3 separate regions of the Homo sapiens genome follow, and regions 1 and 2 are each linked to region 3. Evidence: promoter capture Hi-C in 16 types of primary human blood cells and fetal thymus (Javierre and others, 2016). All regions are on one chromosome and are shown on one strand. Each heading gives the region's core, a stretch centred on a gene start or on the middle of the fragment in contact. The rest is flanking DNA. Distances are from core to core; before and after follow the strand shown. Region 1 overlaps DOCK5 (dedicator of cytokinesis 5). Region 2 overlaps DOCK5 (dedicator of cytokinesis 5). Region 3 holds the start of PPP2R2A (protein phosphatase 2 regulatory subunit Balpha).

Evidence for each region. Contacts are between HindIII fragments. The CHiCAGO score rates a contact against its expected background, and 5 or more counts as called.
Region 1: a contact is called between a fragment that was not itself captured here and the fragment with the promoter of PPP2R2A in region 3, in 1 of 17 cell types (M2 macrophages). The highest score is 5.0, in M2 macrophages.
Region 2: a contact is called between a fragment that was not itself captured here and the fragment with the promoter of PPP2R2A in region 3, in 1 of 17 cell types (M0 macrophages). The highest score is 6.4, in M0 macrophages.

What each region holds. Positions count from the first base shown.
Region 1 is chr8:25,192,044-25,196,720 of GRCh38, forward strand. All of the region lies in intron 1 of DOCK5 (dedicator of cytokinesis 5), which reads left to right. Among named protein-coding and RNA genes, the nearest start is that of DOCK5, 9.7 kb to the left of the region's middle. The HindIII fragment of the contact is 4,013 bases long and covers 1,158-4,677 here.
Region 2 is chr8:25,236,291-25,240,396 of GRCh38, forward strand. All of the region lies in intron 1 of DOCK5 (dedicator of cytokinesis 5), which reads left to right. Among named protein-coding and RNA genes, the nearest start is that of DOCK5, 54 kb to the left of the region's middle. The HindIII fragment of the contact is 472 bases long and covers 1,842-2,313 here.
Region 3 is chr8:26,289,453-26,293,692 of GRCh38, forward strand. PPP2R2A (protein phosphatase 2 regulatory subunit Balpha) reads left to right here and starts at 2,056. Exons shown (of 10, transcript NM_002717.4): 1 at 2,056-2,374; 2 at 4,214-4,240. The coding sequence starts at 2,368. RefSeq lists a silencer at 1,858-2,207. The HindIII fragment of the contact is 3,300 bases long and covers 1-3,143 here.

The sequences.
Region 1 (4,677 bases), core at 1,914-4,413, 1.1 Mb before region 3:
TGCTGAGAATGATGGTTTCCAGCTTCATCCATGTCTGTCCCTGCAAAGGACATGAACTCATCCTTTTTTATGGCTGCATAGTATTCCATGGTGTATATGTACCACATTTTCTTAATCCAGTCTATCACTGATGGACATTTGGGTTGGTTCCAAGTCTTTGCTATTGTGAATGTGCCACAATAAACATACATGTGCATGTGTCTTTATAGCAGCATGACTTATAATCCTTTGGGTATATACCCAGTAATGGGATGGCTGGGTCAAATGGTATTTCTAGTTCTAGATACCTGAGGAATCGCCACACTGTCTTCCACAATGGTTGAACTAGCAAAAACAAAATATTTAACCCATGTTGTGTTTCCCAAGTTCCACTTGTTCATCGTCACCTTGGTTTTGCCCTGTTCAGGTACCACTGTGTAGCAGCTTCAGGGCTATTGCTATACCCATTTCCATCTGTATTCTTTTTTGTTTTTCTTTTAAGAGATAGGGTCTCACTGTGTTGCCCAGGCTGGAGTGCAGTGGTGCAATCTCGGCTCACTGCTGCCTGGACTTCCTGAGCTCAAGCGATTCTCCCACCTCAGCCTCTGGAATAGCTGGAACTACAGACACACACTACCATGCCTGGCTAATTTTTGTTGTTGTTGTTTTCGTAGACACAGGGTTTCACTGTGTTTCCCAGGCTGGTCTTGGGCTCCTGGGCTGAAGCAGTCCTCCTGTCTTGGCCTCCCAAAGTATTGGGATTACAGGCGCCAGCTACCACGCTCAGCCTATACTATTTTCTATGTTATATTTTCTTTATATTGTCTGCTTGTTTTCTTTTTTAATTTTAGCAGTTACTGAAAAAGAAAGCCTTATCTTTCTACCACTACTTGCTGTAGAAAAGAAACAATTGTAAAAATGAAAGCAACAAAAATAAAAGCGGTGTATTAGATTCTGGCTAGATACTGTTGCTGTCAAGCCTAGAGCCCCAGACCTGCTTTTTCTTCATTAAAAAAGGAGGAAGCTGATACCCAATGGAATCTTTCTCTTCAGTATAGTGTCCATTCTCATTATTCATGGTAATTATGTTCTATTTAGTCACAGTGAACACTGAGTTAGTGAATACTGACCCGTTGCTCCTAGGGGAGAGGCAGGGTTCCTGTGAGCCTCTGGTCACAAGCTTTTCATCAGCCAATCAATACATAACCTTATTTTATGTGTGTTTGTGTTTAAAGTTACCTTATTTAACATATATAGTTGGTTCACTAACATTGAGCCCATGGCAAAAAGCACTGTAACTCATGCCTGAATGAAGAAACTTATCTAACGTGTATTTTTTTTTTTAAGGCACATTACAGCTTTTTTTTTTTTGCATTTAGGTACTTAGACAGCACTGTAGCACTATGCTTGGGACCATTTTAAATAGAAAAATCACCAGCAAAAAGCACAAAAATGAGGCCAAATGTGGTGGTTCACACTTGTAATCCCAGCACTTTGGGAGACTGAAACGAGAGGATTGCTTAAGCCCAGGAGTTTGAAACCAGCCTGGGCAACGTTGTGCAACCCCGTCTCTACAAAAAAAAATACAAAAATTAGCTGGGCATGGTAGCATGTGGTTGTGGTCCCACCTACTTGGGAGGCTGAGGTGAGAGGATCATCTGAGCCTGGGGAGGTCAAGGCTGCAGTTAGCTGTGATCGTGCCACTGCACTCCAGCCTGGGTGAGCGAGTGAGACCCTGGTCAAAAAAAAGGCAGAAAAATAAGAGAAATGTGGCAGTAAATAGACCCTGAAAAAGACACTTGTTTACAATATGTTAGCTGAAAAAAGAATGCAGAGCGTCACCTTGCTCACCCTTAGCTAGGAACTTGTGCAGGAGTATTGGTTTTAAGGTTCCATGTATATTTTAGTGAGTAGGTGAATTCGCAAATATGGAGTCTGTCAACAATGAGGATCTACTGTAGTTTCACAAAACGATAATTGAAGCCGGGCATGGTGGCTCACACCTGTAATACCAGCACTTTGGGAGGCTGAGGCGGGTGTATCACCTGAGGTCAGAAGTTCGAGACCAGCCTGGCCAACATGGCGAAACCCTATCTCTAAAAAATACAAAAAAAAAAAAAAATTAGCCAGGTGTGGCGGTGCTCACCTGTCATTGCAGCTACTAGGGAGGCTGAGGTAGGAGAATTGCTTCAGCCCAGGAGGCGGAGGTTGCAGTGAGCCAAGATCACGCCACTACACTCCAGCCTGGGTAACAGAGCAAGACTCTGTCTCAAAAAAATAAAAGATAATTGAAAATGGAATCACTTCCTTTCCCCATGTGTTTGTTTTTGTTCACATATTGGATGCAGTTGACTTTACTTCTAGAAACATTTTCTTCTCTAGACTTTTGATCCCATTTCTCCACAGTTTTCCTCCCATATCCCCACCCTCCATCCTCCCTGCCTTCCCTCCGCTTTGCCACAACTTTAAGTCTTGCCATAGCCTGGCTGGCTTTTGTGTCTCCTTTATCTACCTGATAACAAGTGATCTCATCCCCCGCCTTGGCTCTCATTCCCATTCATTTGCTGCAGCCTTCCACATGGATAGCCCCAGACCCCTTCCCTGTGCTTCGGGATCACATACAGCTGTTCACTGGGCGTCTCCCAGTGTTTTTCTTAACAGGCAGTCCCTGCTTCCAGAACAGAAGTTTGGATCCTCTCTAACCCCAGAACCGCACTTTCCCCAGTTTCTTGCTGTCTGTCCAGTGGCCCAGGCAGAACACTAAGAGTCACCCCACATTCTATCTGTCATCAAGTGCAGTCTGTCCTTCCTCCAAAATATGTCCTCAGATTACTGCTGCTGATGTTTCCATTTCAATGCAAGCCTGCATTAGCGTCTGCAGGGCTACTGCAACGGTATTTTTTTTTTTTTCTTTTGGGGACGGAGTCTCGCTCTGTCGCCCAGACTGGAGTGTAGTGGCGCAATCTTGGCTCACTGCAACCTCCACCTCCTGGGTTCAAGTGATTCTCCTGCCATAGCCTCCCGAGTAGCTGGGACTACAGGTGCGCATCACCACACCTGGCTAATTTTTGTATTTTTAGTAGACATGGCATTTCATCTTGTTGACCAGTCTGATCTTGAACTCTTGACCTCAAGTGATCCACCCGCCTTGGCCTCCCAAAGTGCTGGGATTACAGGAATGAGTCACCACGCCCAGCTGCAATGGTCTTCTAACTGGACTCCTTATCACTTTTTTTTTTTTTTTTTTTTTTTTAAGATGGGCATCTTGCTTTGTTGCCCAGGCTGGTCTTGAACTCCTGGCCTCAAGTGATTCTCCTGCCTCAGCCTCACAAGTGCTGGAATTACAGGCATGAACCACCAAGCCCAGCTAAGAGGAACTTTTTAAAGGCAAGAACCTGACATTGCCACCTCCCTGCTTCCACCTTCCCATTGCAGTTGGGATGGCACTGAAGTTCCTGGTCATGCCCTCCCGGCCCTGTGGGATCAGACCTGCCGCCTCCCTCTTTCCCTTCTGCATTCCAGCCACACCAGCTTTATTTCTGGTTTTTGAACTTGCCAAGCTCAGCTTGACTCAGGACCTTGGCACTTACTCCTCCCTCTTATGGAATGTGTTTCCCTAGATCTTTAGATGTCCGGTTCTCTGGTCTTCCTTCAAATAATCCCTGCTTAGAGAGAGCCTTCTCTGAGAAGAACCCTAGCTGCATGATCCCACCTCCTTGCTGACACCTCACAATGTCTAGCCCTTTTCCTTTATTTATTTGTTAGTGTTTACTGTCTGTCTCCCATACTAGAATGTAAAGTTATGAGGACACGAACTCTTTTTCATCAGTGTGCCCCAGCCCCTGGAATAGCACCTGGCTCATAGTAAGTCCTCAGTGAATATATGCTGTATGAATAAATGAATACTGACCCCATCATCTCTTTAAATTCATCTTGCTTACCATCAGCAGGATTTTGCCCACACTTTGGAAAATACCACCCTGTGTGTATTTCCCATGAGAGAAACATCAAAGGCAGAGAGAAAGGGACATTCAAGTAATGGAGAAAATAGATTTAATAAACTGCATAAGCAAAAGATTACGTGAATCCTGTGGGGTGGGTGAGGACTTAGAATCATAAATGTTGCATTATTAGATGGAAGTGATGGGATTTGCTTTTTTATTTTTGGGTCATTATTTCTGGAGGCTTTATGGAGGAAGGGGCACTGCAGACTTGGCTACCTGGAAAGAAAATGCTTGACCATGTGGTGTACAGAGTTTAGGAGGTTCTGAGTCATTGGTTGGTGCTGTGTTGAGCACATGAATTGGAAAGGAAAGAAGGCGCAGTCTCATGGAAGAAACAAGACATTTAGATTCATCTGTTATTTCCCATTTCTAATACAAGGAGTTGAGATTCCTTACAAAAAGAGCATATGTACTGTACACTCAATAATTAAATAAAAAATCTGAGAAATCACAAGTAATTTGGAGAAGAAGAAAAAGTAATTTAGAATACTGGCAAGGGGCTTTGAAGCCATGGTTACTCAAACATTAGTCTGTCTAAATTTTTCTTGTGGCCATAGCTGTCATGTAGCCATCTTGTTAGCTGAAAATATAAATTAATTTGTGTTTTCTCCTCATCTAAATTTCAAGAGACAAATCAGTGGGGCTTGAATGTAAGGAATCAAATCTCATTGTACTTAATTTTACCATAAAGCAA
Region 2 (4,106 bases), core at 828-3,327, 1.1 Mb before region 3:
GTCATCTCATTGTAGAAAGACTGATTTGGAACCTACTTGTAATTATCATCCTAAAACCACAGATTTGACTTCTTGGTGTTATACCTATTATTGAATATGATTTTCTTGTCCTTATAGTACAGTGTAATTACAGAGCATAAGAAAATGAAATCTGTTTGGCCCTCTTGGATATCATTGCAGGAAAGCCAAGATGAAGATCAAAGATGAGTTGTGCCTCTTTAGTTTTTATAGAATGCATATCTGAAACTAGGCAGATCAAGATCATAATGGAAAAGAAGAATTGTAACCATCTTTTTTTTATTTTTTTTGAAACAGAGTCTCACTCTGTTGCCCAGGCTGGAGTGCAGTGGTGCGATGCTGGCTCACTGCAGCCTCCGCCTCCCAGGTTCAAGCGATTCTCCTGCCTCAGCCTTCTGAGTAGCTGGGATTACAGGCATGAGCCACCACACCCAGCTAGTTTTTTTGTGTGGTTTTTTTTTTGTATTTTTAGTAGAGATGGGGTTTTACCATGTTGGCCAAGCTGGTCTCGAACTCCTGACCTCAACTTATCCACCTGCCTCGGCCTCCCAAAGTTCTGGGATGACAGGCATAAGCCACTGCGCCTGGCCATAGTCATCTTTGGAATATTATGAATGATATATGTCTCCAATGGGTATCTCATTCTGTGTTTGCTGGATCTTTCTTTTGTAGATTCTATCAGGTGACTAATAAAAAATATAATGTAGCTATTCTTCAGGGGATTGTAATTTGAGGATTCATGTAATAATCTCATTCATTAGAAATATTCATTACTTGGCCGGACTGGATGTCCCATGCCTGTAATCTGAGCACTTTGGGAGGCCAAGGTGGGTGGATCACATGAGCCCAGGAGTTCGAGACCAGCCTGTCCAACATGGTGAAACTTTGTCTCTACAAAAAAATTTTAAAAATTAGCCAGGTGTGGTGGCACATGCCTGTCGTTCTAGGTACTTGGGGGGATGAGGCGGGAGGATCACCAGAGCCTAGGGAGGTCAAGGCTACAGTGACCCACGATTGTGCCACTGTACTCTGGCCTGGTTGATAGAGTGAGATCCTGTCTCAAAAAAATAAAAAATAAACATAAAAAAAGAAATATTTATTACTTTCTAGCCTACAGACTTTTCATTGTCAAAACTGATCACTCAGTTTGCAGCCAGTAAGTCTGTTCTGTTGGTTTCTTATTGCATAATCCCAGGACTTCAGTTTTCTTCTCTCATGTAAGCCTGGTTTAAAAGAAAGAGCCAAATCAAAGATTCAGTAAAATGCAAACTATTTTGTCTTGTCTACTTGGCTCTGCAAAATTATACTTTCCTGTTATAAACAGTAAGCTGCTTAGGGAAGAATTCCAGCAATTTGTCTTTCCCAGTGCTGTTCATGGCAGCCAGCGAGGCAACGTATGTACAGCAACTCCCGGTTCTTGTTTAATTTCCTCAGTCAAAACAAGAGATTGTGGTGGTGCCTGCCGGTTCAAAAATGGCACATGTTTCTTTTGCCTCTTCTCATTACCCCGTGAATCAGAAGGCGTTAGAACCAGAGGGCTCTTTAAAGGCAATCCTGTTTTACAGATAAGAAACTGAGGCCTAGGCTTAGTAGCTCATTCAAGGTCATGCATTGTGTAAGTGGTAAAGTTGAGTCTTGAATCCGTTTTGCTTACCCTGAGGTTTTTCTTGGTTTCCCATTTCTCTAGCTTTCTCTATAACAGTTATTCATGTTCTAGAAAGAAACTATGGGCCCACTAAGTGCATTAGCTGTACTCTCATTCTTGAAATAGCATCAGACTAGCGGACAATGTGATCACCAGTCACTGATGTGTGTGATGAGAAAGCTTGGTTTGGGAAGTAGGATGGTCATTTAAAGAGAGAAATCTAGGCTCTTCTCTTTGTTTCTGGGCTATTCCAGGGCATATCTTCACCACTATGGACTGGCTTGGTCAAATGTGATGAATAGACCAGCTTTATAACAGCTTTGCTGCTTGCAAGCTGGGTTTAACCCTTCTGAGTCTCAGCTTCCGCATTAAATAATGTGACACCTGGCATCCACTGTATACAATTACTAAGATATATATGAAAGTAAACTATGAAATACGCTGGAAATGTGAGGTATATTATGATATGGAGGGCATACTACCAAACCCAAGAGTTAGAATGAATAGATGACGGCGGTGATTGGAAATCTTGTTTGTGCTTTTGCCCAGAGACATGAAACAGATTGTACAAACATCCTCTAAGCGGTGACTTTTCATTCCAGTGAAAGGCATTCTTGAAGGGATGTGCTTCTAACATGAATCTCTTTGAAAGCTTAGGTTGGAGAGGCAGATTCTCTCTTGTGATAAACCAAATGGATGGAGAAGTGATTTTAGTAACCCTTTCTTGAGTGATGGGAAACCACAGCCTCTGCTCTGGAGGAAAGCAGAAGTGTGTTTGAGTTTGGGGAAGAAGTGGTGAATAACTGAATTTTTTGATGGATTTTATAGAAGAGATAAAAATATGTGTTTTTAAAATATATTCTTTTCTGACATCGTTATTATACCTTGAGTACTTTCTTTGGGACTAAGCCTGTGCCTTGTAATGAGAAAGACACAAAAGTAATGTGTAACGAGGGCCCCAATCATAGGGATTTCCTTCTAATTGATGGCAGACAATTACACAAGATTGTCTATGATTAAAAACCCAAACTGCGCTGGAAGGGAAAATTGTTGTGGAATGTCAGAGAAGAAAGAGATCCACGCAGGTAATCGGGAGCTAGTAGCCATTTGTTGAATTGCATTGTGGATGTGAGATTTGGATTGTTACAAATCAAGACAGGCCCTTGTTCTAGGCAGAAACAAACCATGGACTGAGCTCAGAATTTAGGGGAGAACATAGGAGTCTTCACTGGAGAGTAGGCTGGAATTTCGCAGATAGTGGAGACAAAGACAGATAATTACGGGCTGGGACAATTTTGGAGGTATTTTGGGTCAGGCTTAGAGATCTAGGTTTTAAGCAAACCGGTCTTTGGTGTGTGCGTGTATATGTGTGTGTGTGTGTGTGTGTATGTGTGTGTGTGTGTGTGTGTGTGTGTGTTTCCAGCAGTCCTTGGTAGGTGTTTGTGTTTGGAGCTTCCAGTGCAAGGTGCTGCCTTTGAGAGCTTCTGCTTACTTTTCCAATGACCGGAACCAGGAAGAGGTGAAGCTTGGTCATTACACAATGCATTGTGACTCAGTGACCTCACTACTTCCTGTTTTCATTTGAGAAGGGGGCCAATGGAAGGGACCATTTCAGTACAAGGCCATGAATAGGGAGTAGGAGATGTCAAGGATATGAGGTCTGCCAAACTAGCAGGCAGAGCATTTGCGTAAACCAGCAGACGAATGAAGGAGTTGAACTCCACTGGAATAGCAGCGGTGGCCCAGTTACCCATGAGAAAGTCTAGGAATTGGGAATTACTCCTACTTCTGAATCGCGTGCGATTTCTCCTAACCTATGTCACCAGCCAATCCTGGTTGTAAATTCATAGCCTAGTCCATAAGCTCAATAGTAAAATAAATTCCAACATACTTTGTCCAGGCTTCTGTGCCAGGAGTGCAGGAGAGCACTACTTGGATGACTTCCTTTATCAAGGAGAGGCCACTGGAAAACAGGTGGCTGGACGTGTGCTCCTTCCTGCTCACTGAGAGGTTGACTGTGATGTAAGCCAAGCTGCAGGTGCAGGGTGCACTGCAGGCCCAGGGAAGAGCTGGGAAGAGCCGGGAAGACCCACCACTGGCAATGTCAAGGACGCCTTTCTTCCCTGTGGGATATACTGATGGACTGAGTGACTATCCATTCATCAGTGTGGATGGCCACTCATCAGGCCTGCAGAGATGGGAGCCTTATGGGTTCCTTGGATTGTCAAGTCCATGGCTAGAGCTGAATCTCTAAGGGAGTTCTTTTTTCCTGGAAAGATGTAGTTCCCTCATCAGTAGAGTGAGGGTAAGAAGTAAATCTACTTAAAAAAAAAAAAAAACCAGCTTCCGTCAAGTGTAATTTATATACCATAAAATCCACCCGTTTTAAGCATATAATTCACTGATTTTTAGTAAATTTACAGAGTTGTGTAAATATCACCGC
Region 3 (4,240 bases), core at 806-3,305:
GAACCACCAAAGAAGGGCAGAGCAAGCAAAAAGGAAAATAAATGAAGGCATACCCAGAGAAATACATTTATGAAAAACACCAGCATTGAAGAAAATACAGCACGCAGTGCACTGAAGTTTTGTACCTGTTGTACAGGTAGCCAAAAGATGACACATAGAGGGTGGATTTTTAGTTTTGATTAATTCATTGGTAACGTGGGAAATATTCATGCAGAAACAGAGGAATGATCATGCAGTGGTGCAGTTGTTCCTTTGAAGGAATTTTGAACGTTGCATTACAGTTCAACTGTCCTGGAAATCAAAAATATGGTAGAAAGTGGAGATGGTGGGGAGGACGTGTAAATATCTTTAACTCCCCCTTCTTGGTTTCCAAACGCCTTTATCACTCCATTCAGCCTTAGGCCAAATTCTGGATGCTTTTACAGGTGTTTTTCACGTGTAAAATGTGCATATCTATCTCCTAGGAGTATCGTGGAGATGGAATGGGATATGTAAAGTGTGCTGTATATAGCAACTGCATCATTAGAGCATCTTTCAACAGAAGTGCACATCCCCTCATAGCTGATGACTGGCATTTCCTGTTCATTTTTTTCCTTCTACCTCTTAACCTTACTGACGATGCTTTCAATACAAATCTAATAATAACGGCAGCTAACATTTATCATGTGCTCAAATTAAGTCATTTCATCTCCCCAACAATCCTATCAGGTAGGACTGTCATCTTCATCTCCTGAGCCTTGGAATCATATTAGGCAGCCTGGCTTCAGAGCCCAGCACTTTTTGTGTTTTTGTTTTTGTTTTGACAGGATCGCATTCTGTCTCCCAGGCTGGAGTGCAGTGATGTGATCACATAGCTCACTGCAGCCTTGACCTACTGGGCTCAAGCAGTCCTCCTACTGCAGCCTTCTAGTAGCTGGGACTATAGGCACGCCATCATACCTGGCTAATTTAAAAAAAAAAATTTTTTTTGGAGAGATGGGTCTCCCTATGTTCTCCAGGCCGAACTCGGAACTCCTGGCCTCAAGCGATCCTCCCACCTCGGCTTCCCAAAGTGCTGGGACTACAGGCGTGAGCCACCGCGCCCGGCCCTGAGCCCAGCTCTTAAGCACGCAGTCCAACACGTTTAGCTGGAGAGACGCCGGGTCACTTCTTGGGCCATACCCTCTCATCACAAACTCAGGTTTCTCTTAGAAATCACTCTTAGTGTCCGCAGTGCCTAGGACTCCCGCCTTGGATCCTGGGGCCCACGAGAAGGTAATTTAATTCACCCAGATAGAACCAGCCCAATCGTGTCCCTCTGAACCCCGTGAACTTTCACCCCGGCTGAGCAGTAAGTCTGCACCGCTGTCCCTTTCTTTGTGGTCTCAGGGCTAATCCAAAGTGACAATTTCCTAAGAAGCAGTACGGGGTTTTTTGTTTGTTTGTTTTTTGTTTTTGAGACGGAGTCTTGCTCTGTCACCCAGGCTGGAGTGCAGTGGTGCGATCTCGGCTCACTGCAACCTCTGCCTCCCGGGTTCAAGCAATTCTCACACCTCAGCCTCCCAAGTAGCTAGGATTACAGGCGCACACCACCACGCCTGGCTAATTTTTGTATATTTTTAAGTAGAGACGGGGTTTCACCATGTTGGCCAGGCTGGTCTCGAACTCCTGACCTTGTGATCCGCCCGCCTCAGCCTCCCAAAGTGCTGGGATTACAGGCATGAGCCACCGTGCCCGGCCCAGGTATTCCTAGAAGACATAGGACCCCATGAATCCTTGCAGGAGAGCACGTAAACTGGACTCCTAAGCCCGCCCCAGAGCCCCGGCGCTAGTGCTCGAGGCTGGGACACTGCTAGGTGCACACAGCCGCGGCCTGGCGCAGGCGGTGCGGACAGAGGGTATGCCATGGCGAGACGCTGGCGCGGCGCAGGCCCTGCCGGCCGGGACACGGAGGGCGGGGCACAGGCGCAGCAGGAAGGGGGCGTGGCCAAGAGCCGCCCGGCCGCTCCCCCGCCCCTCCCCCTCCGCTCTCCGCCCCAGCCCGGCGGCTCCGCCCCCTAGGTGACGTCACTGGCCAGGCCAGCCGGCGCCATTTTGAAAGTGGAGTCGCCTGCCCCTGCCGCTGCCGCCGCCGCCGTCGCTGTCGTAGTCGCCGCCGCCGCTGCCGGAGAAAGAGCACGAGCGGGGAAGCCCCAGAGTGAAATCTAGCATCCTGCCGGCTGGTCTGCCCGCCCCTCCTTCCTTTTCCCCCCGGCCCCCGTCCCCTCCCCCCGCAGGTGCCATCCGCCGCCATCCGCCCTCTCTACCCCCCCATCCCCAGGTGAGGGGGGTGAGTTCAGGAAGCGGAGACCCCGAGGAACCCAGCAGGGTCACCATTTGCAGCGCAACATGGCAGGTAAAGGAGAAATCCCCCTCGCCCCCTGACAAGGCACCGCTTCCTTATTCCTCCCTCCATCACCCCCTAGCGACCGCCCGCGCCTCGCGCAGAGCCACAGGGCGCCCCTCGGGTTTGAGGGAGTAGGGTCCAGAGGGGTGGGGTGGGGGCGGGGAGGGCTCCCGGGAGGCAAGTGGTCACGGTGAGAGTCACTGGGCTTGGAGAACGGGGCTGGCGCCGTGGCGGGGGTGGGGGTGGGGTGTGCCGGCGAGCTTGGGGTGAGGCGTGGGTGGGGCGGGGTGGGGGTGCGTGCAGATTTGTCCCTCCCGCTCGGGAGCCTGGTGGATCTTCTCCCACCTCCCCACCTTGCCCCCCGCCTTTATTTTTTTTTCCTGCAGGTCTTCATTTAATTTCTATTTTTCCCCCTGCTGCAAGCCTTCTTGGGTGTATATACACATTTATTTTGCCTCGAGAAGGAAGAGCGCCTTATAAGTTAAAATACAGTGGGGGCATATGTGTATTTTTTCCCCACTGTAGATGCCAATATTTTTGAGACTGGAAGCCTAAATTTTTTGTTTCGAACCATTTCGTTTCCGTTTCTTCCCTTTTACCGCCGAAGAGTGCAAGGCCTTTCATGTACAGCAAGTTGCATGAAAATAATTTAAACTTTGCGTTTAGCATGTTAGCTTTTTTGCAGATGTCCTTTTCCCAAAAGGGTTTGGTAGAGTTAGTTAAAATAGTTGCGGAGTTCAGAGATATAAATAGCAAGGAGGAGAGAGATTTAGGTAGAAGCTTTGAAGGGGAGGGGAAAGGATGTAGAGAGAAAACCAGTTTGGAAATAAATTTAGCAAGGAATAGGGGTGATGGGGGAGAGAGAAGTAATGTAATTGCTTTGAGAATTCTTTTTGTACATGTTGGTATTGCTAAATCTTTTCCTTCATGTAGTAGAATCAGTTGCAGATTTAGATTCAGTTTCTTTCTCCCTAGAGCCCCAGGACATTTTCAATCATTTCGACCTCAGTACTTGCACGTGAAATAGAAACATTCCGAGATGAGACCAGTTTTCCGTGCTGTATTCATTATTTAGATAATTAAACCTTTTGAAAAAGTTAACATGTCGGATTGACTTACGGTTTGCTATAAACAAGTTGCTTGTTGGCCTTGTTGAAAAATGAAATGAGATTAAAATTGTTTTGCACGAGATGACATTAGCAAAATGAATTCTTTGCCAGGTCCTTTGGAGTCAAGGGATGAGGTGAAGGGAGGCAGAACAAGCTTCCTTTGACAGTCTCTTTAGCAGCATTCATTTCGGTTTCTTTTCCTCTCTGTCTGGAGCCAGTGATTTGCTGGTAATGAATGCAAAGAAATGGGTGTAGTGTTTGCTGTGTGTGCACTTTGGTGATAAGGTTCATATGAATCATTACTCCTTACCCAGGCAGTAATGTTCCCGAAGTTTTCTCTTCGTTCTATGTTTCATGGTAGTTTAACCTTATTAACTCTTCTGCAGGCTTTTTGTACACTTAAGAAAACTCTTTAACTCTTGGTATTTACTTTTTTTCTGGTAGGTCTTGCCTGAATGTAAGGCTTTTACTGTATTTGACAGGAAGTTTGTGAACAGATGTTTAATGACCACAGAACATGTGCCTTTAAATATTTCGTACCTGGAATCTTTTTTTTCTTTCTAATGCAGTACCAAGTATTGGGGACTAACCTCTTTCCAAACTGGTGCTCTTGGTGGTAGTTGTATGTGTGGGCAGAACTAGGCTGTTAGTATCATGCCAACCATGGATACCATCTTTGTGTTTACGAGAGTCAACATAAGCAGAACTCGGTTTTAATTGGTATGTTTTCTTTTTCCAGGAGCTGGAGGAGGGAATGATATTCAGT